5 separate regions of the Homo sapiens genome follow, and regions 1, 2, 3 and 4 are each linked to region 5. The links are contacts of gene promoters, found by promoter capture Hi-C in blood cells and fetal thymus (Javierre and others, 2016). All regions are on one chromosome and are shown on one strand. Each heading gives the region's core, a stretch centred on a gene start or on the middle of the fragment in contact. The rest is flanking DNA. Distances are from core to core; before and after follow the strand shown.

What was found. Contacts are between HindIII fragments. The CHiCAGO score rates a contact against its expected background, and 5 or more counts as called.
Region 1: a contact is called between a fragment that was not itself captured here and the fragment with the promoter of TMEM163 in region 5, in 4 of 17 cell types (megakaryocytes, naive CD4 T cells, naive CD8 T cells and 1 more). The highest score is 7.7, in megakaryocytes.
Region 2: a contact is called between a fragment that was not itself captured here and the fragment with the promoter of TMEM163 in region 5, in 2 of 17 cell types (megakaryocytes and M0 macrophages). The highest score is 6.8, in megakaryocytes.
Region 3: a contact is called between a fragment that was not itself captured here and the fragment with the promoter of TMEM163 in region 5, in 1 of 17 cell types (megakaryocytes). The highest score is 8.2, in megakaryocytes.
Region 4: a fragment that was not itself captured here is called in contact with the fragment with the promoter of TMEM163 in region 5 in 2 of 17 cell types (megakaryocytes and naive CD4 T cells); the score reaches 6.1 in megakaryocytes.

What each region holds. Positions count from the first base shown.
Region 1 is chr2:134,581,579-134,586,274 of GRCh38, forward strand. All of the region lies in intron 2 of TMEM163 (transmembrane protein 163), which reads right to left. Among named protein-coding and RNA genes, the nearest start is that of TMEM163, 140 kb to the right of the region's middle. RefSeq lists an enhancer at 2,175-2,224. The HindIII fragment of the contact is 2,227 bases long and covers 1,007-3,233 here.
Region 2 is chr2:134,901,135-134,905,482 of GRCh38, forward strand. The region is part of intron 1 of CCNT2-AS1 (CCNT2 antisense RNA 1); the gene reads right to left. ACMSD (aminocarboxymuconate semialdehyde decarboxylase) reads left to right here. Exons shown (of 10, transcript NM_138326.3): 10 at 664-900. The coding sequence ends at 726. Among named protein-coding and RNA genes, the nearest start is that of CCNT2-AS1, 15 kb to the right of the region's middle. The HindIII fragment of the contact is 5,293 bases long and covers 223-4,348 here.
Region 3 is chr2:134,470,313-134,474,918 of GRCh38, forward strand. The region is part of intron 5 of TMEM163 (transmembrane protein 163); the gene reads right to left. Among named protein-coding and RNA genes, the nearest start is that of MGAT5, 220 kb to the left of the region's middle. The HindIII fragment of the contact is 7,682 bases long and covers 1-4,606 here.
Region 4 is chr2:134,561,558-134,566,057 of GRCh38, forward strand. The region is part of intron 2 of TMEM163 (transmembrane protein 163); the gene reads right to left. Among named protein-coding and RNA genes, the nearest start is that of TMEM163, 160 kb to the right of the region's middle. The HindIII fragment of the contact is 1,654 bases long and covers 1,491-3,144 here.
Region 5 is chr2:134,717,591-134,721,795 of GRCh38, forward strand. It overlaps TMEM163 (transmembrane protein 163), which reads right to left and starts at 1,410. Exons shown (of 8, transcript NM_030923.5): 1 at 1,144-1,410. The coding sequence starts at 1,345. It overlaps LOC105373629 (a long non-coding RNA gene), which reads left to right and starts at 522. Exons shown (of 2, transcript XR_923354.4): 1 at 522-977. RefSeq lists a silencer at 1,494-1,733 and an enhancer at 3,436-4,205. The HindIII fragment of the contact is 5,110 bases long and covers 1-3,583 here.

The DNA of each region.
Region 1 (4,696 bases), core at 870-3,369, 140 kb before region 5:
CAGCAATTCCCCCACTTACAGGAGCTGGGAACATTCTTCATGCTCTTTATGGGGGCGGGGGGGAGATGAATTTTATGAGGTTGATGAGAAAACAAGTTCAAAAGTCAAGTCAGCTCATTTTGAGGGGAGGATCTCCTACCTTTAGTTTCCCCATACTTTCCCCTTGCCCATGTCAGCATATGCATATACACATGTACAATAATGATACCAGAGTGACCAAAGAACACAACTTTACAAGAAGCAGCAGAACCAAAAAGGCAACTACCCTTCCATCTCCCTCCTGCCCTTGAACCACTGATTCTCCATGTTAAATATTCCATCGTTCAAAATATGGCTACACATATTGAAGACTTTGTCCTTCCTAACGGTGTCATAAAGCTGAAGGGTTTCCTTGTCACCATGAGTGCGCATAGAAGTATCAACAGCACTGCAACCAGCACTGCTTGGGTTCACACACACGGCAGAGAACCATGAGAGAGCACAAGGTATGCAAGAGTTTAAAACTTTCAGTTTCCTAGAAACCACAGTCATGTCAAAAAGGGAAGACAAGAAGATCGCCATGTGCTATGGGAAGATGCCTAATTAGAAAGGAACTAAAAGAGAGGACAAAGGCTGGGAAGGGGAGTAAGTTTTGCAAAATTGTTTTCTCATCAACTTCAAAAAAGGCAACCCAAATCCCCCAAAGAGCATAAGGAATGTTCCCAGCTCCTGTAGGTGGGGGAAGGTCAGTATGGTAGGTGCACCTAATAGCAATAACTTAAGAAATGACAGCTGCCATGCGGGGGCCGCTGCTAAGTGCAAGTGCTCTACAAACCGCACGCTTTTTGCAAGAGGTTGCAGTTCTCCTGTCCAGTCTGCCACCTTTGGACTGTTCCTGCATGTAAGTTCTCACAAATAAAACCCCATATCTCATTTGCTGGCTCTGGGTCTCTTCTCTGGACTCTTGAACCTAGTGCCGTCCCTGTTGAAGTTAACTGGAGTCTGACAAGACAAAAATTCACGTCAAAGCTTCACTCAGACTAATCAGAAACCCAAGCCCAAGCTGGTGCATGGTGGTGCTAGGTCCTGCCATGTGATTCTCATGACTTGCATACAGCCACTCAGTCATCATAAGTGCTGTCTCTGAAACAAGGAAGAAAAAAATAATCATGTCTCAAGCTGATGCTTTAGTTTTGGCAACAGTGAGTCACTGGCAGGTGAGGAAGAGGAAGTGGTGATATCTCATGTGGGGGCTGGGGGTCGCCTCCATCCTGAGAGGAGGAAAGGTAGGGGGCAGAAAAATGGCTTCTGGGTCCAAGGGGCCTAAATTCCCTTCTACCTGCAAAAGTAGAGAAGAATCCACTGGCTTGAACACACTCCACATATATGCTAAGAGATCTCTACTCTGGGACCATTCTTCCTATAAAAATGGCACTAAAACATATTTCTCTATTTTAACAGGCATCTCTGTGCAATGATTATTTGGATTTTAAAAAAATATGAGAAGAACTTCATTTCTGCTTAGTCCTGTGGACAGAGAACGGTGGAGCTTCACCAGAAAGCTCCTCTCAGCACAGCAGTCACAGCACCAACTTTGGAATCCAGCTACCCAGATTTGAATCCTCATCCCACGCTGGCAAGCCACATAAAATTGGACAATTTATTTAATGTCTTTGTGCCTTGGTTTCCTTCCCCACAAAATGGGAGTTCTACCTAATGGAGTTGCTCTGTATCAAGAGAGCTGACACATGGACACATTTAGACCCACAGCAAGTGCTTACTGGCATGTAAGTTTCTAATAAATAGTTCGCATCATTATTACCTTCTGGGCGCTTTGTATTTGTCACTTACAGTGATAAAAATTTCAGACGGCAATCTAAGAAGAGGCTCCTAGAGTTCGAAGAAACAAAAGCAATAAAACCAAGTTCAGCACCATGACACTTCTCACTCAAACCCCATGGAGAAGGCCACGACCCCTAGAAATGGGAGGCCGTTTGATCTACAATCGAGAAAGAACTCAAGGGCCAATAACGAAACTGAAGGCAATGGAGTTCTCGGAAAAGGGGTTCACCACATCCATGCAGCTACTGTCAGCCATGCTGTAAAACCACTAACAGATCTTTCATAGCCTAGCACTCACGCACCATCACTCCCAGTGACCTCATGGTCCCCTCCCCTCCCCTACATCTGCTCCAGCCACACTGTCTGCCTGCCCCCTATGAGATGCCCCCTGCTCTCAGGCCCATGGCTTGCTCTCTGCTCCCTCAATCCCTCCCATCTTTGTAGCTTTCTCAGGGAGGCTTTTTCTGACCACATTATTGAACGCATAACTGCTATTCCTGTCCTCCTCCATCCCCTTTCTGGCTTCATTTTTCTCCATAGCATCCCTCACAATCTAATATGTATTTTATTTCTCACTCCCTGAGGCAGGAATTTCTGACCATTTGTTCACTGCTCCATCTCCAGGGCCTAGAGCAGCACCTGGCTCCTAGTAGTGCTGAATAGATGGGCTACAAAATCTCTGCACAGGAAATGCAGACTATTGCTTGGCAGATGTAAAGGTTAAATGATAAAGCAAGCACATCACTAAGCTCTCCTTGCCCTGCTCCAGGATAAAGTCATATTTTGGATGCCCTAATTGATATCCAAGTATAATTTCTCAACTGCTGCCAGCAGCAGAACTAAGGAACAATGAAAAACCTTGAAATGAAGAACATAAACAGATCACGCTGCCAAGAGACGGCTGCATCAGGGAAGGGCAGCAGCCTCTAGCAAAAACCACAGACTCACTGCCCAGCCATGGTGTCTGAAGCAACATCCACAAAAGCATGTGTGCACTAAGATCCTACAAGGCAGAGGTCATGGAATGAATGTCCAGAGATCATTATGTAGGATAGCCAGGTGGCCTATATGCCTGCTCTATGGTCACCCATGTGAAAAATCACAGGTGAAAAACCCCTCCCCATTAACTAAGTTCCAGGCAAGGCACAATCCTCAATGTTTGTTTGGAAGATAAAGTACCCAGAAACGTAAGTTTCTTGACCATTGCATTTTAGAAGACCTCTCTGAAATTTCTAGTAAAAAAAAAAAAAAAAAAGTACAAAGGCATGTGATAAAGACTCGAGACTCTTGCTAAAGAAATAAGAGAGTCTGGGTGGCCAGAGAGTCTGGGTGGCAACTTTTACCGGATTCAGACACAAATGTTCATTCAAATTATCTATAATGTGAAAGTATCCACAATGTGCCAGGTACTAAGCTTAGCATGTAAACTTAGAGTAGTATTTCCATTTCTAGCTAAGGAACATGAGGCTCACCAAAGGCAATGACTTGTCCAGAATCAAAGAGCTGGTAAGCAGCAGAGTCCAATGCCCAGCTCCAGACCCAGCACCAGTGACCTGCCAACTACTCCACAGACACTTCAGGGACAGGACACTTCATGGATGCCTGGGTATTCTTCATATAGAACTTGAGAGGCCCCTAAACTGTGAGCTCTGCCTGCAGACATTTCATTCTCTTATAACTATGTCACATGTAGAGATCTTTATTAAATCTAACCATCACATTTCAACCCCACCTGGAAACAGGGACAGAAAGAGATGGCAACCTCGTCCTCTTTTTTCTTTTTTAGAGACAGGGTCTCACTGTGTTGTCCAAGCCAGATTCAAACTCCTGGGCTCAAGTGATCCTCCCACCTCAGCCTCCTGAGTAGCTGGGACTATGGGACTACAGGCACAGAGTCTGGCTACCTCACACTCTGGACCTAATAGATTCTCAAGTGATGGCTGCAAATAGAACCATCTAGTAAAACCTTTAGGCAAGTTATTTAATCTCTCTGTTCCTCCATTTCCTCTTAGAGGGTTGTTGTGAGAATCAAATGAGTTAATACATTAAAAATACCTGGAATGGCCGAGTGGGGTGGCTCACGCCTGTAATCCAGCACTTTGGGAGGCCGAGGCGGGCAGATTACGAGGTCAAGAGATAGAGACCATCCTGGCTAACACAGTGAAACCCCGTCTCTACTAAAAATACAAAAAATTAGCCGGGCGCGGTGGCGGGCACCTGTAGTCCCAGCTACTAGGGAGGCTGAAGCAGGAGGATGGCGTGAACCCGGGAGGCGGAGCTTGCAGTGAGTCTAGATCGCGCCACTGCACTCCAGCCTGGGCGACAGAGCGAGACTCCGTCTCAAAAAAAAAAAAAATACCTGGAAGAGTGCCTGGCACAGAGTCCATGCTCAATGAATGTTAGCTGTTATTATCAATATTTCTTATAAACATAAAGCAAAATTGGAATATTTAATTAACAAATAGTCATGTGAAGAACCAGTTGCTTCTTCAAATATTTATTAAATATAAAAGCCAACATTTTAGTATAAATGCCTTATAGTATATGTTCCTCCCAGGGAAGATTTTTGTGCATGGACTTAAGACTTTTTGAAAGAAGAGCCCAACAAAGTCTGGAATGAAGAGCAAGCAAGGCTCTAAGGACCACAAAACAGTGTTCAAAGTTTGGGTCATCAATTCTAAGATGTTTTACAGTTGAGTCAAGATACATATATGACACTGAAATTCTTCGGATGGCACCTGTTGGAGAAATGGCTGTTTCCAGGGCAATTTCCTTTTCTTTAGTGATTCCTTAATCTCAGGCCAAGCTTGTATTAGTTGGCAAGGGCTGCCAAAACAAAGTAACACAAACTAGGTGGCTTAACCAGGAGAACTTT
Region 2 (4,348 bases), core at 1,619-4,118, 190 kb after region 5:
CCCCATATATTTCTTCCATCCTCAGCTACATACCTGTCCTTTGCAAGCTGGATAAACAAATCAGTTAGGGTATCACAAAGTTACTTCTTAAATCTCTTCTTTCAGCAGAGTTGATATAGTTTATAGCTGGGGAGTCCATTTCTTATGTGAAAATTTTAAGATGTACGGATTTGTACCCTCATCTGAGACCCTTCATTTATATCACTTCTCTTGCTCTGAAAAAGCTTAACTTTTATTTAGGGCCATGTGAAAACAACAACACATATGTCTAGCAGCTGGGGGATGGCTAGATGACTTTTGAGCACCTTTTGCAGCCCTCTTGTCCCACAGACCTAACTGTACCTTTTCTCTGTATTTGCCCCCAAATGGTCCTTAAGATCCAAGCTGTTAGAGGGTCCAGTTTCCAAACAAGGGCACCTCCTAAGGAGGGCTCTCCCCTTTATAAGTCTCTTCTCTCCCCCTACAATCAAGTTTCAGATTTAGATTTCAAACAGCGGGGCAAAACATAGGTCAAGAGGATTTTGGTAAGAGATTCACTGTATAACCTGCTAGTATTTTTCTCTCATATTGGGGAGCTGATTTTTTTAAACCTGATCAATGTAGTACTTAAAAGTACTTAAAAAACAACCAATAATGCTTTAAAATATTTTCTTTTCTTTTCAGAATAAACTCAAAGCCGGCAATGCCCTGGCATTTTTGGGTCTTGAGAGAAAACAATTTGAATGACTGAATTTACTACAAAGGCAAACTTTCAAAAGGATATCTCATTTTTGTTTCTAAATATGTATCAACAGGTATCAACAAAATCCTATTTTGAACTATTTTACTCAGAAATGAATGTCCCAAATATCCTAAATTATTCATAATAAAAATGATTTGTAAGTGTTTTCATTCTGAAAAGCAGTACATTATTTCATGTGCAAATAAAAAATGATTTTCCCAGTGCTCTTTTAATTAATCTGGAGAAATACAAAATAAAATGTCATTAATGATTTATATGGAGAAAGATTCATCCTAGAAGACTTAGGTAGGTTGTCCATTTTGAACAAAGATATGTGAATTGGACTCAAATAACCTGTTCCATCTGCCTTTAACACCTACCATTAGCCCAGAACTGGGCTGGGAATGCTTTAGCCTCCACAAAATAAATAACATGAATATAGGATATCCATAACCTCAGGGAGCTTCCAGACCAATTAAGGAGGTAAGAGATGTTCATGGAATAATTACTAAGCTATCAACTTTGAGTGTCAAAGAAGTTTCGTTAAGCGGAATTCACTTTGGTCTAAAACTGTGGAGCAGATCTTCACAGAGGGTGGAACATGAGAGTCCAGGAGATGAATAAGGAATTTTTAGGGTTAGAGGATGGGAAACAGGAAGGCAAAACTATGGGAACACAGCTGTGGTTTCAGACTGAATGAGACATCCATTTTAAAAGTTTTTGTCTATAAATTTACTCCTACCAGAAGCTCTTTTGATTTTAAAATACCGAGCAGAATGTATGAAGCTAACTGTGGAAAGTTAATAGGGCAATACCAGGGTAGCCTTGTTTTACCCATTTCATTTATGGTCCCACTTGGGCTGCTGAAAAGGAACTTGGTCCTGGGATGGGTGATGAAATCTATGGTTCATCTGCCTCTGGCTGAATTCCAAAATCAAGCATGGATTCATTCATTATTTTCCCTTCCATTCATCTAGAAAATCAAGAGTTGAGTATTGACATGTAATTTGTGCTGACCCCTCTCCAGAATAAAGATGAGATCTAATTCTTACTTCACTATGCTCACGCCATTATTTTCACTTTATATAGTTCATTGCCCCACCTCCTTCTCACCCCACCCCCCACCATTTCTTTCTAGGATTTTACTCACCCACCATCTGCTTATTGCTCCAATCTGCCCAAAAAGGAAAACAAAGTTGAACAAAGCAACAACATGAACCATATGTTATTTTTTCCTTCCCCAATCTTTGGGGATAAAGTCCATACCTTTTCAAATATTCTATATTTGAGCACTCTGAATACAGCATTTAATGATTGTTTTATTATAAAAAGTAACCCAATCACTTTATTCAATATCATACACACACATACACATGCAGAGTGAATGGATATATTCATATTCACATGTTTTCTATGTGCCAGGACTATAGGAATGCTCCAGGCACTGGGGGTATAGATGTAAACAAAAAAGATAAAATTCCTTTTCTGACAAAACCTACAATCTGAAGAGTGAGAAACATAAATAAGGTAAGGAAGAAGAAAAAGAGGAATAAAAGGAGGAACAGAAGGAGGAAAGAAGGAAGGAAATTTTTCTTATACTGATAAACACTATGAAGAAATTAAAACGAAAATGTGGTAGTGACTAGGAGAAAGATGGGGGGGTAAAACGTTAAATTGTAGAGTCAGAGAAGGCCTCTTTAAAGAGGACTTTCAACTGAGATTTGAATGATAGAACAGTGAAGAAAATGCAAAGGTTCTGAGGCAAGAAACCTCGTGACAAGTTTGTGAGCAAGGAAGGGAGACAGGAGAGGAAGCCAAAAAGTTGGCTAGATCAGTAGATCATGGTCAAGGGTTGAGTTTTTGTTGTTGTTGTTGTTGTTGTTGTTGTTGTTGTTTGAGGCAGAATCGTACCGTCACCAGGCTGGAATGCAGTGGCGCGATCTCGGCTCACTGCAACCTCCGACTCCCTGGTTCAAGTGATTCTCCTGCCTCAGCCTCCTGAGTAGCTAGGATTACAGGCACGTGCCACCAGGTCCAGATAATTTTTTTTTTTGAGACAGAATCTTACCCTGTCGCCAGGCTGGAATGCAGTGGCGCAATCTCGGCTCACTGCAACCTCTGACTCCCTGGTTCAAGTGATTCTTCTGCCTCAGCCTCCTGAGTAGCTAGGATTACAGGCACGCGCCACCAGGTCCAGCTAATTTTTTTTTTTAATAGAGTCGGGGTTTCACCCTGTTGGCCAGGATGGTCTCAATCTCCTGACCTCGTGATCCTCCCGCCTCAGCCTCTCAAAGTGCTGGGATTACAGGCATGAGCCACCACGCCTGCCCAAGATTTTTATCTTGTTTCATAGGAAACCACTGGAGACTTTTTAATAGGTCTGTGACATGCTCGGACTTATGTTATTCTTTTAAAACAAACAAACAAAAAATAGAAGGGTGCAGTGGCTTGCAACAGTAATCCCAACACTTTGAGAGGCTGAGGCAGGAGGATCACTTGAAGCCAGGAGACTGAGACCAGCCTGGGCAACACAGCAATCTCTACAAAAAAAAATTTTTTTTTAATTAGCTGGGTGTGGTGGCTCATTCCTATAATCTCAGCTACTCAGGAGGCTGGGATGGGAGGATGGCTTAAGCCCAGGAGTTCGAGGCTGCAGTGAGCTAGGATCATGCCACTGCACTCCAGCCTGGGTGACAGAGTGAGACCCTGTCTCAGAAAAAAGAGAGGAGAGGAGAGGAGGAAAAAAAGAAAAAAGAAACCCATATACATTAACAGCTTTGTAGAGACCTATTAAAGGGAGTCAAGAAAGGAAGTTGGAGGCTAGGCAAGAAATGATGGTGACTCAGGCATAAATACAAGAATGGGGATCATGAGATATGTTTGTAGGCAGAACCAACAGCATTTAATGATGGACTAAATGTGAGGAAGAGGGAGGAAGGGGAGGAAAGAAATCAAGGCTGACTCCTGGGCATGTGAATGTGAAGTGTGTGTACACATGTGCACACCATGCTTTTGTCAATCAGTCTCCTATATTTGGACATTTAAATAATTCCTAATGTTTTGTAATTATAAATAATACTGCAATAAAATTTGATTCATTTCCCAAATCATACATATGGATAAACTACAACTCTGATTGGATCAAAGATTTAACTCTAAAATATTAAACTATGCAGGTACTAGAAGAAAAGATGCGAGAATTCCTCTTTAATCTGGGTGTAAAGAGGGTTTTCTAACTAGGACTTTCCTGGGCACATACTCCTGGTGACATTTAAGGTTTGAGATGATTAATAGTAGTTAATGGTGTTAAATGCATCCATACTTTAAACATAGGTGCTTTGATTCCCAGGCTTTTCACTTGAACAGCTGGGTAGATTTATTACCATATACCATAATGAGGAAGACTATGGGAGAAACAGTCTTGAGAGGAAAGAGAATCAACAGTTCTGTAGTTGGACTTGTTATATTTCAGATGCCTCTTAGACATTTAAGTAGGAATGTCAAGTAAGCACTTGAGTGTTCTAGTCTGGAGAGTTCAAGAGAGAGGCTAGGGAAAAATCACCAGTGTATAAAAGGTATTTAAAGAAATGAGACTGGATGAAATCACCTGGTGAAAAAGTAGAGTAG
Region 3 (4,606 bases), core at 1,394-3,893, 250 kb before region 5:
CGCCACTGCACTCCAGCCTGGGTGACAGAGTGAGACTCCGTCTCAAAAAAAAAAAAAAAAACTTCATACGGATGTGTCATGGGGTCAAACAGGGCCCGGCACAGAGTGAATGCTATATTAGTATTGGGAAGCTAAGTTTTTTAATGTAGAGAAGCCAAGATGCAAAATGCAGGCTTTTTCTGAGCATGGGTTATTTCTACCAGCCACCCTTTGCTCCTAGGACTGGCTCTGAGAGAGCAATTACCTTTCCCTGTAGAGGAACAGAGTCTGGGGCCATCTCTGAGTGTCACGCAAAGCTGCAGGCTGCAGCTCACCACTGCTGAGTGGATCTGCCTCAGAAACAGATGAACCCTGCGGAGGAACCCAAGGAGGATCCAGGCTGGCACAGACCTGCCAAAGCTCCTCTCCCAAAACCAGCTTTCAATGTCCTGAAAGCTCTGTGATTACCCTACCCAGGCCCAGATGGCTCTCCTGCGGTGCACGTGCTCCTCTCTCCACACGGCTGCCATGTTGACTGTTGGCATGAACAGAATGTCACAGAGATGCAGTCAGCAGCCTGCTCAAGACATCAGTACCTGGCTGGGCATGGTGGCTCATGCCTGGAATCCCAGTGCTTTGAGAGGCCGAGGCGGGAAGAACACTTGAAGCCAAGAGTTCAACACCAGCCTGGGCAACATAGCGAGACCTGGTCTCTACAAAAAATGTAAATATTAGCCAGGCATAGTGGCACATGCTTGTAGCCCCAGCTACTCAGGAGGCTGAAGCAAGTGGATCACTTGAGGCCAGGAGGTTGAGACTGCAGTGAGCTATAATAGTGCCACTGCACTCCAGCCTGGGCAATAGAGTGAGACTCTACCTAATAAAACTATGTTTAAAAAGACATCAGTCCCTGTTATGGACTAGATGTCTGTGTTCCTACAAAATTCATATGTTGAAGCCCTAACCCCAATGTGATAGTATTTGGAGAGGGGGCCTTTGAAAGATAATTAGGGTTAGATTAGGTCATAGGGGGACCTCATAATGAGACTAGTACCCTTATAAGAAAACAGAAGATCTTTTTCCCCACCACCGACGTGCACCAAGGAAAGGCCACATGAGGACACATGAGGACACAGTGAGAAGGCAGCCATCTGTAACCCAAGGAAGGATCCCTCACCAGATGCTGACTCTGCTGGCACATTCATTGTGGACTTCAGTCTCCAGAACTGTGAAGATGAAATTCCTGTTTTTTAAGCCACCTAGTCTACGACATTTGTCTTTGGCACCCCAAGCTAAGACAGTCTCTAAGTTTAATAAAAGGAAGTTTCTGAGAAGATTCCTTTCAGAGAGTCAGGAAGCCACAGCAGACATGGAGACATGGCTGATGATGAGAAACCATAACACGTGTAGGCTGTTCCACCACTGACTCCTCTCAAGGTGCGGCCGCACCTACCATGCCACTGAATTCTCAGCACTGTCAGAGTGGGCGTCTGACAGATGCATAAACAGTTGGAGAGAGGCTAAATGACTTTCCCAGGGTCACTCTGCAGTGGCAGGACCTGGAATTGTTCCCAGCTGTAAACTCTACCAGGTTGCCTCATCTAAGGCCTTATCATCATCTCTCATGTCCCTCAACAGTGGACTCCGTGAAAACAGCAACAGCGATTTCCTTGCTGGGCATTCAGTTCCTGCTGTTACCAGCACTGTGTCTCTATAATTTCTCACAGTTGAATCTTCACTGATTGATGGAAGATTATGACAAAAAGGTTTAAGGAAATTAGCCACTCATTCAAAGCCAAGTATAAATGTACATTAAAGGTAAACTCCACATAAATTTTGTCCATGCTGGCAAGCTCCTTCAACATCTTGTAGTAGCAAAGCCATAAAAGATTGATATACTTGACTAGAGAGAAGTTAAGACATATTCAGGGGAAAGATCAAATACAAACTAGGAAAAGGGTTATCACAAAGGGTTAATCTCCTTACTATAGAAAGGGCTCATGGAAATCTAGAGGAAAAAGACCAACAAAGAGAAAATGGACAAAGATATATGTGAGAGACAGTTAAAAATAACATAAATTTTAAACATATGAAAAAGGCTCAAATGCTCATAAAAGAAATGAAAGCCAAAACTATAGTAAGATCCTTTTTATCTAACCAAAAATATTACAAGGCTATGAGAAAACAGTCTCTCATACAATTCTGGTGGCAGTGCAAAATGGTCCAACCTGTACAGAGAACAATTTGACAATTTCTCTGAAAAGTACACATCTACCCTTTGAGCAAGCCACCCACTTATGTGAATTTATCTTACTGCTATACCTGTACATGTATGCAAATGACGGCACATATGGGCCATTCATTACAGCAATGAAAACACTTTTACATAACTGATAGAACAAACTAACAGAAAGTCAGTAAACAGAAGACTTCAACAACATGATCAACCAGCTTTGCCTGACATTTACGGAACATCTACCCTACAAAGGCAGGACACACATTCTTTTTAAATGTAATATTAATGTAGATCACATTCTATGCCATTAAAAAGATGTCAACCAATTAAAAAACTGAATTATACAAGGCATATTCTCTGACAATGGGATTAAACTAGAAATCAGTAACAGGATGATATCTAGAATATTCTAGTATTTGGAAACTAAACAATAAAACAACCCACTTCTTAAAAACTCATGAATCAAAGAATAAGTCACCAGGGAAATTACAATATATTTTGAAGTGAAATAAAGTAGAACAACAGTATACTGAAATTAGTGGTATGCAGCAAAAGCAGAGCTAAGAGGAAAATTTATAGTAAATAATGTACTTAAAAATGTTTAAAAGGCCTAATATCAATGATCTGAGCTTTGCCTTTAAGAAAAAATTAAAAGAAAATCAAATTAATCCCAAAGTAAGGAGAAGGAAAGAAATAATAAACTTATGAGCAGAAATCAATGAGACAGACCAGGTGCGGTGGCTCACAACTGTAATCCCAGGACTTTGGGAGTCCGAGGCAGGTGGATCACTTGAGGTCAGGAGTTCGAGACCAGCCTGACCAACATGGGGAAACCCTGTCTCTACTAAAAATACAAAATTAGCTGGGTGTGGTGCCTCACACCTGTAATCCCAGCTACATGAGAGGCTGAGGCAGGAGAATCACTTGAACCAGGGAGGCAGAGGTTGCAGTGACCCAAGATCACACCATTGCACTCTAGCCTGTGCAACAAGAGTGAAACTCTGTCTCAAAAAAAAAAAAAAGAAAAAGAAACCAATGAGACAGAAAATGAATAAACAGTAGAGAAGAATCAATAAAACCAAAGACCTTGATAAAGATCAGTAATGTAGGATAAACCTCCAGGACTCATCTAGAAGAAAGAGGACACATGTTACCAATATCAGGAATGAGAGAAGGTACATCACTACAGATCCAACAGGATCTATTAAGAAGATAACAAGGAGATATAACCAACTTGATGCCAATAAATTTGACAACTTAGAAGAAATAGACAAATCAAACGTCATCCAAGAAGTAGATAACCTGAAGAACCCTGTATCAACCGAAGACCTTGAAACTGTAGTGAAAATCCTTCTCACAAAACTTCAGGCCCCAATGCTTTTACTGGCAAATCTGCCAAACATTTAATCATTTAAAGGAGAAATAACCAATTCTAAAACATCTCTTTCAGAAAAAAAAAGATAAAGAAGAAACACTTCCCAATTTATTTCTGAGGCCAGCATTACCATGACACTAAAAGCAGAAGCATCACAAGAAAACTACAGACCAATAGCTCTCATGAATCAGACTTAAAAGTCCTCAACAAAGTATCAGCAACACAAATTCAGCAATATATAAAAAGGATAATACAACATGACCAAACGGGGTTTATCCTGGGGAACCAATATTGATTAAACATTCAAATATCAATCAAAGCAATTTCCCATATTGACAGAACAAAAAGAAAGCCCATATAATCATCTCAATAGATGCAGAAAAAGCATTTGATGTGTCAAATGTGTCACTACCCACTCATGGAGAAGGGAAGGAGAAACAGAGGAAGCCAAAGACTTCTCAGCACTCTAGGAATGGAAAGGAATTTCCTCAACCTGATAAATGGTATCTAGGAAAAACCTACAACTAATATCAACCAACGGTGAAAAAATGAATGTTACTCCTAAGATCAGGAAAAAGGCAAGGACATCTACTTTCATTACTTCCATTTGACTCTGATTAGGAGGGAATAGCCAGTATACAGATAGAAAAGAAAGAAGTAAAGCCATTTTTATTTACAGACTACATAATTTTCTATTTTGAAAACCCTCACTAATTTACCATTCCTCCCACACACAAAACATACTTATTAGAACTATAAGTGAGTTTAATAAGACCACATACCAAGTTAGCAAGTAAAACTCAACTGTATTTCTGTACACTAGCTAGAAATATGGAGTTTTTGGAAATACTATTTAAAGTAGCACAAAAATACTAAATACTCAGTGATAAATTTTACATGTAAGACCTGTGCACTGAAAACTACAAAATATTACGGAGATAAATTAAAAGATTTTAGTACATGGAAAGATATACTGTGTTCAATTATTATTAAAACGTTAGTTCTCCCCAAACCGA
Region 4 (4,500 bases), core at 1,068-3,567, 160 kb before region 5:
CCAGGATGGTCTCGATCTCCTGACCTCGCGATCCGCCTGACTTGGCCTCCCAAAGTGAGCAGCAAGGTTCTTGCTGAATGTCACTCACACTTTCCTAACACTTGCTCTTACACCTCCTTGTGCCAGGGTTGCCCACAATGCCAGCAGAGCTATCAAGTAAGCCTGTGGGAGGCAGGCCTGGTCAGGTGTCCTCAGACCACACTCAATTCATGTCCTGCAACCCACACTGCCAGACTAACATGAGTAGCCACGCTCAACTAATCAGTCTTTCATTCAACCAACAAGTGCTTACTGAGCACCTACTATGTGTCCCACACTATTCTGCTGAGCTGGGGATACAGCAGTTGCTTGCCCAACAATTTGATAAAACATACATTTTAAAGCCTTATGTTTCCCTTAATCATAGAATGCAGCTCCTTTAGCCCAGTAAGTAAAGCATTCATTAGATAAACAGAGATGGGGATAAAATTTATAGAACAGAACTTTCGCATTTTATCTTCTCTTGTCTTCTATGTTAAATACCTGTGAGGTTGCTGGGAGTTTGAAGCTTGTTTCTAGGTAAACTCATTTTCAGTCCATTCTTTTTACTTTGGCTTGGTGTCTTTTTGGGCCCCAAAGCTCCCTGCCCCTAGCTGCCTTTCTTTTATAAAACACAGAAATGCTCCTTGCCTTCTCCCAAGCAGCACACAAAAGCGTGAAGTCAAGGGTTGTATCATATTTGTCTCTATCCTCAGGGTCTGTGTGCTCAAGCACAAGTGCATTGTCAGTGCTCAAAAAATCCTTGTTAAACTGAACAAGACTGGAAGAATCTCTAACCCCCAATTATAATTTCTGGCTTTTATTTAATGTGTGACAGTCAATTCAGACCAGAACCAAAAGCTAACACTACGGGCAAGAAGAGCTAGCAAAGGCATGGATATTGTCACCCAAGGTCATCCTTGCCAGGCCACTGAGATGGCCCTTGGTCTGCACTGCTGATTCCAAACACATTGAACCTCTTTGGTTTGAAAAGTCGCTTAAGAAACATTTTAAAGAACAGAACATACTATGAAGAAGAAAAATACACTGAATAAGGGTCCAGAGATTTGGCTTAAAGAAACTATGCTGAACAAACACCAACTCATTTGATCTGAATCAAAGTCATTTGAAGATTAACGTGATCACTCAAAGAATACAAGTTAAACATGGTGGAATACAGCCCTTTTGTCCTCTCTCCTCACCACCCTGCTCCATAAAACCCAAAGCAACAAGAAACATGAAAAAACTAGAAAAAGAATAAAATGATCAAAGATCCAGAAAATGGCCAACCCCCAATAACCTAAGTTATAAAGGGAATCTACAAAATACATTAAAATTTAGACCATGCTAGGAGAAGATGCTGACAGCTGATAATATGTCTCAATCAAATCTTGGGCAGAGCTTAGACTTTTCCACAATTAGATGGCACAGTCATCAGTAATCCAAACGATTGTCCCTTATATGCAATGGCAAGCTTGGAGCTGAGCTCCAGCATCCACCCCTGGACCCTTTCCTGATATTCTACACACTAGAGAGCAAAGGCGTGAACCAAAGGAGTGCGTGCTCAGACAGACACCGATACAAGAATCAGACACCACCATTCCATCAACGAGAGGAGCCAAGGCTCCACTGCCAGCCAGGCAGTCTTCTCTTATATTCAAGGCAGGAAGATGTTCCCCAAGGTAGATCACTGAGATCAGGTGCCCCGAGAATAAGTACTCAAATTAAAGCTGCCTGCTGCTCCCTGCATGCCTGGTTCTCCACAAAGTCACAATTATTAGAGCAGTGAGGCACTGGCAAACTGGCAGACAGAATAGGGGAACTAGAAAGAATTAAGAAGTGAATTCAGCAAGGCCACCACACATTAAGTGAATACACAAATTCCAGTTATTTCTATATTAGCCACAAACGAAGGAAATGTAATTTTTAAAAGGCTCTATTCAAAACAACAAAATTATCAAATACCTAGGAAAAAACTAATGAAACTAAAAAAATATGCAAGACTTCTACCTAGAAAAGCAATGAAATATTTTAGGAGAAATTAAAGACAACTATTAAATATATGAAGAAACATACCATGTTTGTGGACTGGAAGCCTCACTGTGGCCAATTAAAATCCTAGCAGGTGGTGACAGAATTGATAAGATGAAGCCAGAGTTCATGTGGAAAGTGAAAAGAATCAGGAATAGCCAAGACAGGCCAGGCACGGTGGCTCACACCTGTAATCCCAGCACTTTGGGAGGCCAAGGCAGGTGGATCACCTAAGGTCAGGAGTTCGAGACCAACCTGACAACATGGAGAAACCCTGTATCTACTAAAAATACAAAAACCTTAGGCGTGGTGGTGGGTGTCTGTAGTCCCAGCTACTCGGGAGGCTGAGGCAGGAGAATCTCTTGAACCCGGAGGCGGAGGTTGCAGTGAGCCGAGATCATGCCACTACACTCCAGCCTGGGTGACAGAGCGAGACTCCACTGCGGCAGCAGTGGCGGTGGCAGGGTGGGCAGGGAGAATAGCCAAGACAACCGTTAACAACCACAACCAAAAAAACCTGGAAGACAGTCACTACCAGATACGAAGATTTCAAAGCTACAGTAAATAAAATGATATTAGCACAAGGATAAACAAAGAGACCACAGAACAAAAGAAGACCCACACAGATATGGTTACTTGATTTATATATTTCAAAAGTACCCCTAAAATACACGGGGGAAAGAAAGTTCTTTTCAATAAATGGTACTGGGCCAGTTGGACATCCATATGAAATGACTGAATTATGACCCTACCTTACTCCATATAGAGAAAACTGTCGATGAGCTGTAGATATAAAAGTGTAAGGTTAACATAGGAGAGGTCTGAAATAGAATATTGGCATGGAGTTTCATAATCTTGGGGAAAGGTAAAGATTTTTTAAACTAGACATAAATGCATTCATCATAAGGGAAAGGACTCGTAAACTGAACTACATTAAAGACCTCCTTCAAAGAGCAAAACAGCAAGCCATCGAGTTTATTGAGAAGATATTTATAAAACATAACTACCAGGGGACTTATATCCAGAACATATAGACTTATAAATCACTAAGAAAGAGAAATCAACCCAATAGGAAAATGGGTGAAAGACTTAACAAGCTTCATGAAAGATGATACACAAATGACCAATAAACATATGAAAATATACTCTACTTATTGGTAACCAGGGACAATAAAACTAAAACCACAGATGCCACTACATACTCAAAGTGTGACTAAAAAGTAAAAAAGCTGACAGTTTCAAACGTTAGTAAGGATGCAATACAACTGAACTCTTGAACTGCTGGTGGAAGTGTAAAACAGTACAAATACTTTTAAAAACTGGCTGCCCGTCTCTATAAAAGCTGATCAGGTCAGGTGCGGTGGTTCATGTCTGTAATCCTAGCACTTTGGGAGGCTGAGGCAGGCAGATCACATGAGGCCAGGAGTTTGAGACCAGCCTGGGCAACATAGTGAAACCTGATCTCTACTAAAAGTACAAAAATTAGCCAGGTGTGGTAGCGCGTGCCTGTAATCCCAGCTAGTCAGGTGGCTGAGGCACACGAATCGATTGAACCCAGGAGGCAGAGGTTGTAGTGATCTGAGATCACAACACTGCACTCCAGCCTGGGTGACAGAGCAAGACTGTCTCAAAAACAAAAACAAAAACAAAAGTGATCTTACTCCATGACCCAGCTATTCCATCCCTAGATATATACTCAATGGAAATACATACTTATGGCTGGGTGCAGTGGCTCATGCCTGTACTCCCAGCACTTTGGGAGGCCGAGGCAGGTGGATCACCTGAGGTCAGGAGTTCGAGACCAGCCTGGCCAACATGGTGAAACCTCGTCTCTACTGAAAATACAAAAATTAGCCAGGCGTGGTGGCAGGAGCCTGTAATCCCAGCTACTCGGGAGGCTGAGGCAGGAGAATCACTTCAACCTGGGAGGCAGAGGTTGCAGTGAGCCAAGACTGAGCCACTGCACTCCAGCCTGAGCGACTGAGGGCAAGACTCTGTCTCCAGAAAAAAAAAAAAACCATACATACATATGGATACTTGAAGATGCTTACAAAATGTTCACAGCAGTGTTATTCCTAATTGCCAAAACTGGAAACAGCACAAACATTGGTCAATAGTAGAAATGGATAAACTGGTGGTATATTCATCCAGTGAAATACAACAATGACAATACATGAATTACAGCTAATCACAACTACACGTATGCATCTCAGCAAAGGCAAACACAAAAGCACTCATTGGATAATCTATGTATGATTTGGTTTGTATAAAGTTCAAAAATAGACAAAGCAAATCCACAGTGGTAGAATTCAGGCTGGTGGTCACCTCCAGGGCAGGGAGCGGTGTCAAAGACGGGGCATGAACAGGTCTTCTCAGGTGGGAAGATGAGTGTGAGTGGTGGCTACACAGCTATGTTCACTTTGTGAAACTTCATTAAGCTATGGGATTTTC
Region 5 (4,205 bases), core at 160-2,659:
GAAACCTGCTAAGTCTAAAATATATAAACCCGCCATAGCCAACAAAATAAGGCTTCCAAGAAAAGGGGGTGGAGGTGCAAAAGAGCCGGCTTCCCCTAAAGGGCCTGGCTGCAAGAATCCCTCTTTGGCCACTAAACGGTTTTAGCAGAACCACAGATTCGTTCTGAGGGGGACAATTTGGATTCGGATTCAGCAAGAAGTAGAAAAGGTGCAGACGCGGCCAAGAACAGGGCTCCCTCTGCAAAGAATCCAAGCCCAAAGGAAACGCGGAAGGGATGGAGAAGAGAGACGCGGGAACGAGCAGGGAGTCTCTCCCGTCCTACACTGGCGACTCAAGGGGGCATCGGCAGTCGGTGGGAGGCAGAGTGTGGTCTCCCAGCAGAGGCAAGTGTGCTGACCTCCAGGCCAGTGTCAGTGGAGGGGAGCTCTGAAGGGTCTGCAGACGCGCCCTCCGGAAACATCAGGTTTCAGTGGCATCCATCCAGATGAGGTTGGTGGCCCAAATCCAAATGTCCCATTCCTCTGCCCCATCATGAGACGACGGGGCAGGGACCCACTGTGACCCGCGTCCGCGATTAGAATCGGGGACTGCCCGAGACCAGAGGCCGCCCGAGTCCCGGCTCGCTCCCCTCCTTGCGCCCTTCGCCGGGGCGGGCAGCCGGGCGGCCGCCGAGGGACATCTCGCGGCTACACCCGCAGAGGGAAGTTCTCCCAGGCAGCCGGCGGAGCCGCAGGGGACTACGGAAAGGAGGATGCAACGAGCCTGGGTCCCTCCGAGCTGAGTAGGGCCCGGAGTGGCCCAGAAGCGCTCGACTCCGAACGCAAAAAATGCCTCCCGCAAACTTTTCCCGTGGGCGCCGGAGGGCCTGGAGCTGGCGGAGAGGAGGGCGCGAGTCCAGGCGGGGTCGGCCTGAAGGCAGCTGGGGTCTGGGCTTCGAGGGAAGGAACCGCAGCCGAGGCGGTGCCGGCCGCAGAAGGTGGGGCTGCCGCTCTCGGCTAGCGGCGTTCTCGCCGGGAAGTCGGGGCTCCGCGCCCCCGCGCGCTCCGAGCCCCGCGCCTCGCCCAGCGCGGCCCGCGAGTGGGGAGAGGCGGGCCCCGAGCAGCCACCCCGGTCGCCGGCCGGGTCGGGCAGCTCGCGCTCACCTCGGTCCTCCAGCCCGTCGCTGAACTGGCCGCTCTCGCTGATCCGCACCTGCCGCTCCTCCTCCAGCTGGGGCGGCTCGCGCACCGGGGAGCTCAGCGGGGCCGGGCCGGGGGCGGCAGCCGGTGGCGCGTGGCCCCGGGGCGGCGGCGGGACGGTGGGCCCCTGGGAGCTGCGGCGCTGGATGCCCGCGGCCGGCTCCATGGCGCGGGGCTGCGGATCCCGGCGGCGGCGACGACAAGCGCGGCGGGGACTCGAGTCAGAAGTGCGAGGCGCCGCGGCTCTGGCGGGGGCAGGAGCGGACGGACTGGCCGCGTGGACAGGGAGGGAGGGCGGGCGGGCGCCGCGGAGTGGAGGTGCACGGGCGGGGGCGGGGACGAGCGGAGAGCCGCTCGGCTCCGCGGCCGGTGGCGGAGGCTGGGGCCGCGTTGTTGCCGCCGCGCTCCGCCCCTGGGGGCAGGTGCGGGCGGCAGGGACCCGCCCCAAGGCCCGGGCGCGGGAGCCGGCGCACCGAGGCGGACGAGAGGGAGGAACCAGCGTGAGGACCCACAGGCGGCCCTGGCAGAGCTTGGCTAGGGCGTAGCGGGGACCCGCCCCACCTGCGCCGCGGGATGGTGCCCAGAGGGGACCCCTCCCACTGGATTCCTCTGGGGTCCGCGAAGCCCGCGGCCGCGCGTGGGTAGCAGACAGCGCCCCTAATTTGGCATCTTTCTCTTCTGGAGCTGCACAGGCTTCAGAGGCTGTACAGGGTCTTCGCCTGGGCCTCCATTCTCACTGCTCATCCAGGGAAAAAGGGTTCATCTGTCCCCAAGCCCGTCGCTCTCCGTCCTTCTCGGAGCTTTAACTCCCCTCCCAGTTTCTCCCTGGAGCACCCATTTAGCCAGGGATGGGGTATCTTTAGGACAGCGGGCGCTATAGAAGATGCTTGAACTCCGAGGCTTCCCCATTTCGACTCTTCCTGGGCCTTTGTCCCATACAGTTCGCTCCCCTGCTCATCTAAGTCTTGTGTGATCTTCAGAAATCCATGGAAGCCTCCCTTCTACGAGAAGTCTCCCCTACTCTGACCCCTGCAGCTCTTAATTCATTTTGTGCGGTGGGGCTGATCTCACCAGTGAGAGTCCACCGCAGGGCACACGCCAGCTCTCTTGATGCCCAGAGAGGAGCAAAAGAGGACCTGCTGTTTAATAAATTCAGCTTGGATTTGTTGAGGCTCAGAAAAGTATACCCCAACGTATGGCACTTTGGTATGCTAAGTTTGAACTAAAAAACTAAACAGGCCTCTGAAGCCGCCTTAGAAACAAAGTCTGTCTCCCCCCCGACTTTCTCCCCACTAAGCAGTTCACAGAAACCAGAATTCCTCTTCCCTACGGTGGTCATACAACCTAGAAATAGTACTCCAACCTCCCTGGTCCTCTGCCTTTCTGTGTAGGAGCTGGCCATGAAGAAATACTCAGACCTACCTTGTCTGATAGTAGATCCTGAGACCCTCATTCCAGAAGAGGTCCTGCTCTATACATGCTGCACAGAGAGGCCAAGAAGAATCTGAACAGGCCTCGCTGGGTTCAACCCTCAGTCTATTACCATTAGATCACACCCTTTGTCCAATCACATTTCTATAAGGCTGTCCATTCTTCACTGAATCTAAGCATAAAAACAGGCAGTTTTCCCTGAGTCTTTGCATCTTCATTTCTGAAGGCTCCTGTATCACATAAAACTTTGATTCAATAAATTTGTTACGCTTTTCTCTTATTAGCCTATCTTTTGTTATAAGCATGTTTGCCGTGCCCCTTATGATGGGGAGGAAAGTATCACACCTTTTCTGCCCCTACCGTTTCAATGGTATCAACATCCAAGCTCTAGAGTCCGGCTTTCGTCTTTAGATTGATTCAGTCTCTGAATTTAATCCGGGTACTCCAAAATGTCAATTCCTCATTTAAAGGAGTCCTCCTCGTTTCTTGAAGAGTCACCCTTTTCCTTTTTCTTGTCTGCTTTGCTTGTGATTGAAATGAGAGTAGGATTTAAATGCCTTTGTGGTGCACTGGAAATATCACCAGAAATGGGGAGAGGGGTCTTACTTTATTTTGTTGCTGCTGTTATTATTGTTGTTGCTGGATTGGAATGAGAAGATCTGAGTTGACCTTGACCAACTTACTTTACCTTGTTGACCACTAATTTCTTCAACTACAAATTGAAAGAGTTGAACTACGTCATTTCAAAGATCCCTTCCTGCTGCAAAGAAAAAGAAAAATGCTATGATTACTTGGATAAAGACAATGAAAATCTCTACCCATTAATCCTGGTTCTATCCTCTAAGGTAGAACATCCTTCAGATATATTTGCAGAGTCATCTCCTCCACTTTTTTCCTCCAGTCTATCCCATTTAATCCCCCTGTCAATGGCTCTCAAAGTATCACCTGGGGAGTCTAAGAACAAAAATACCGAAGCTTCGACTGCTAGAGATTCTGATATCATATTTAACGTGATCGTTCTTGGCTGGGACCTTGGCATGGGTATTTTGTAAGGCACTTCCCCATTCTAAGAGTCATCTGGGGGCTTAAAAAAAATTGGCTGGGCGTGGTGGCTCACGCTTGTAATCCCAGCACTTTGGGAGGCCAAGGTGGGCAGATCACAAGGTCAGGAGATCGAGACCATCCTGGCTAACATGGTGAAACCCCGTCTCTACTAAAAATACAGAAAATTAGCCGGGCGTGGTGGCAGGTGCCTGTAGTCCCGGCTACTCAGGAGGCTGAGGCAGGAGAATGGCATGAACCCAGGAGGCGGAGCTTGCAGTGAGCTGAGATCATGCCACTGCACTCCAGCCTGGGCGACAGAGCGAGACTCCATCTCAAAAAAAAAAAATTATTCCTCCCTGGCTCTCTGAGATTCTGGTTCAATAGATCTGGGATCTGGCTGGGAACCTTCCTTTAAACCCCTCTTGCCCCCCGGCCTCCAACACACATTCTGATGTCAATTATTCTGCAACCACCCTTTATGATTACTCTCCACAATATGGACCATCTAGCTCTGTGCCCTTCACATACACACACACACGGTCTGCAGCAGA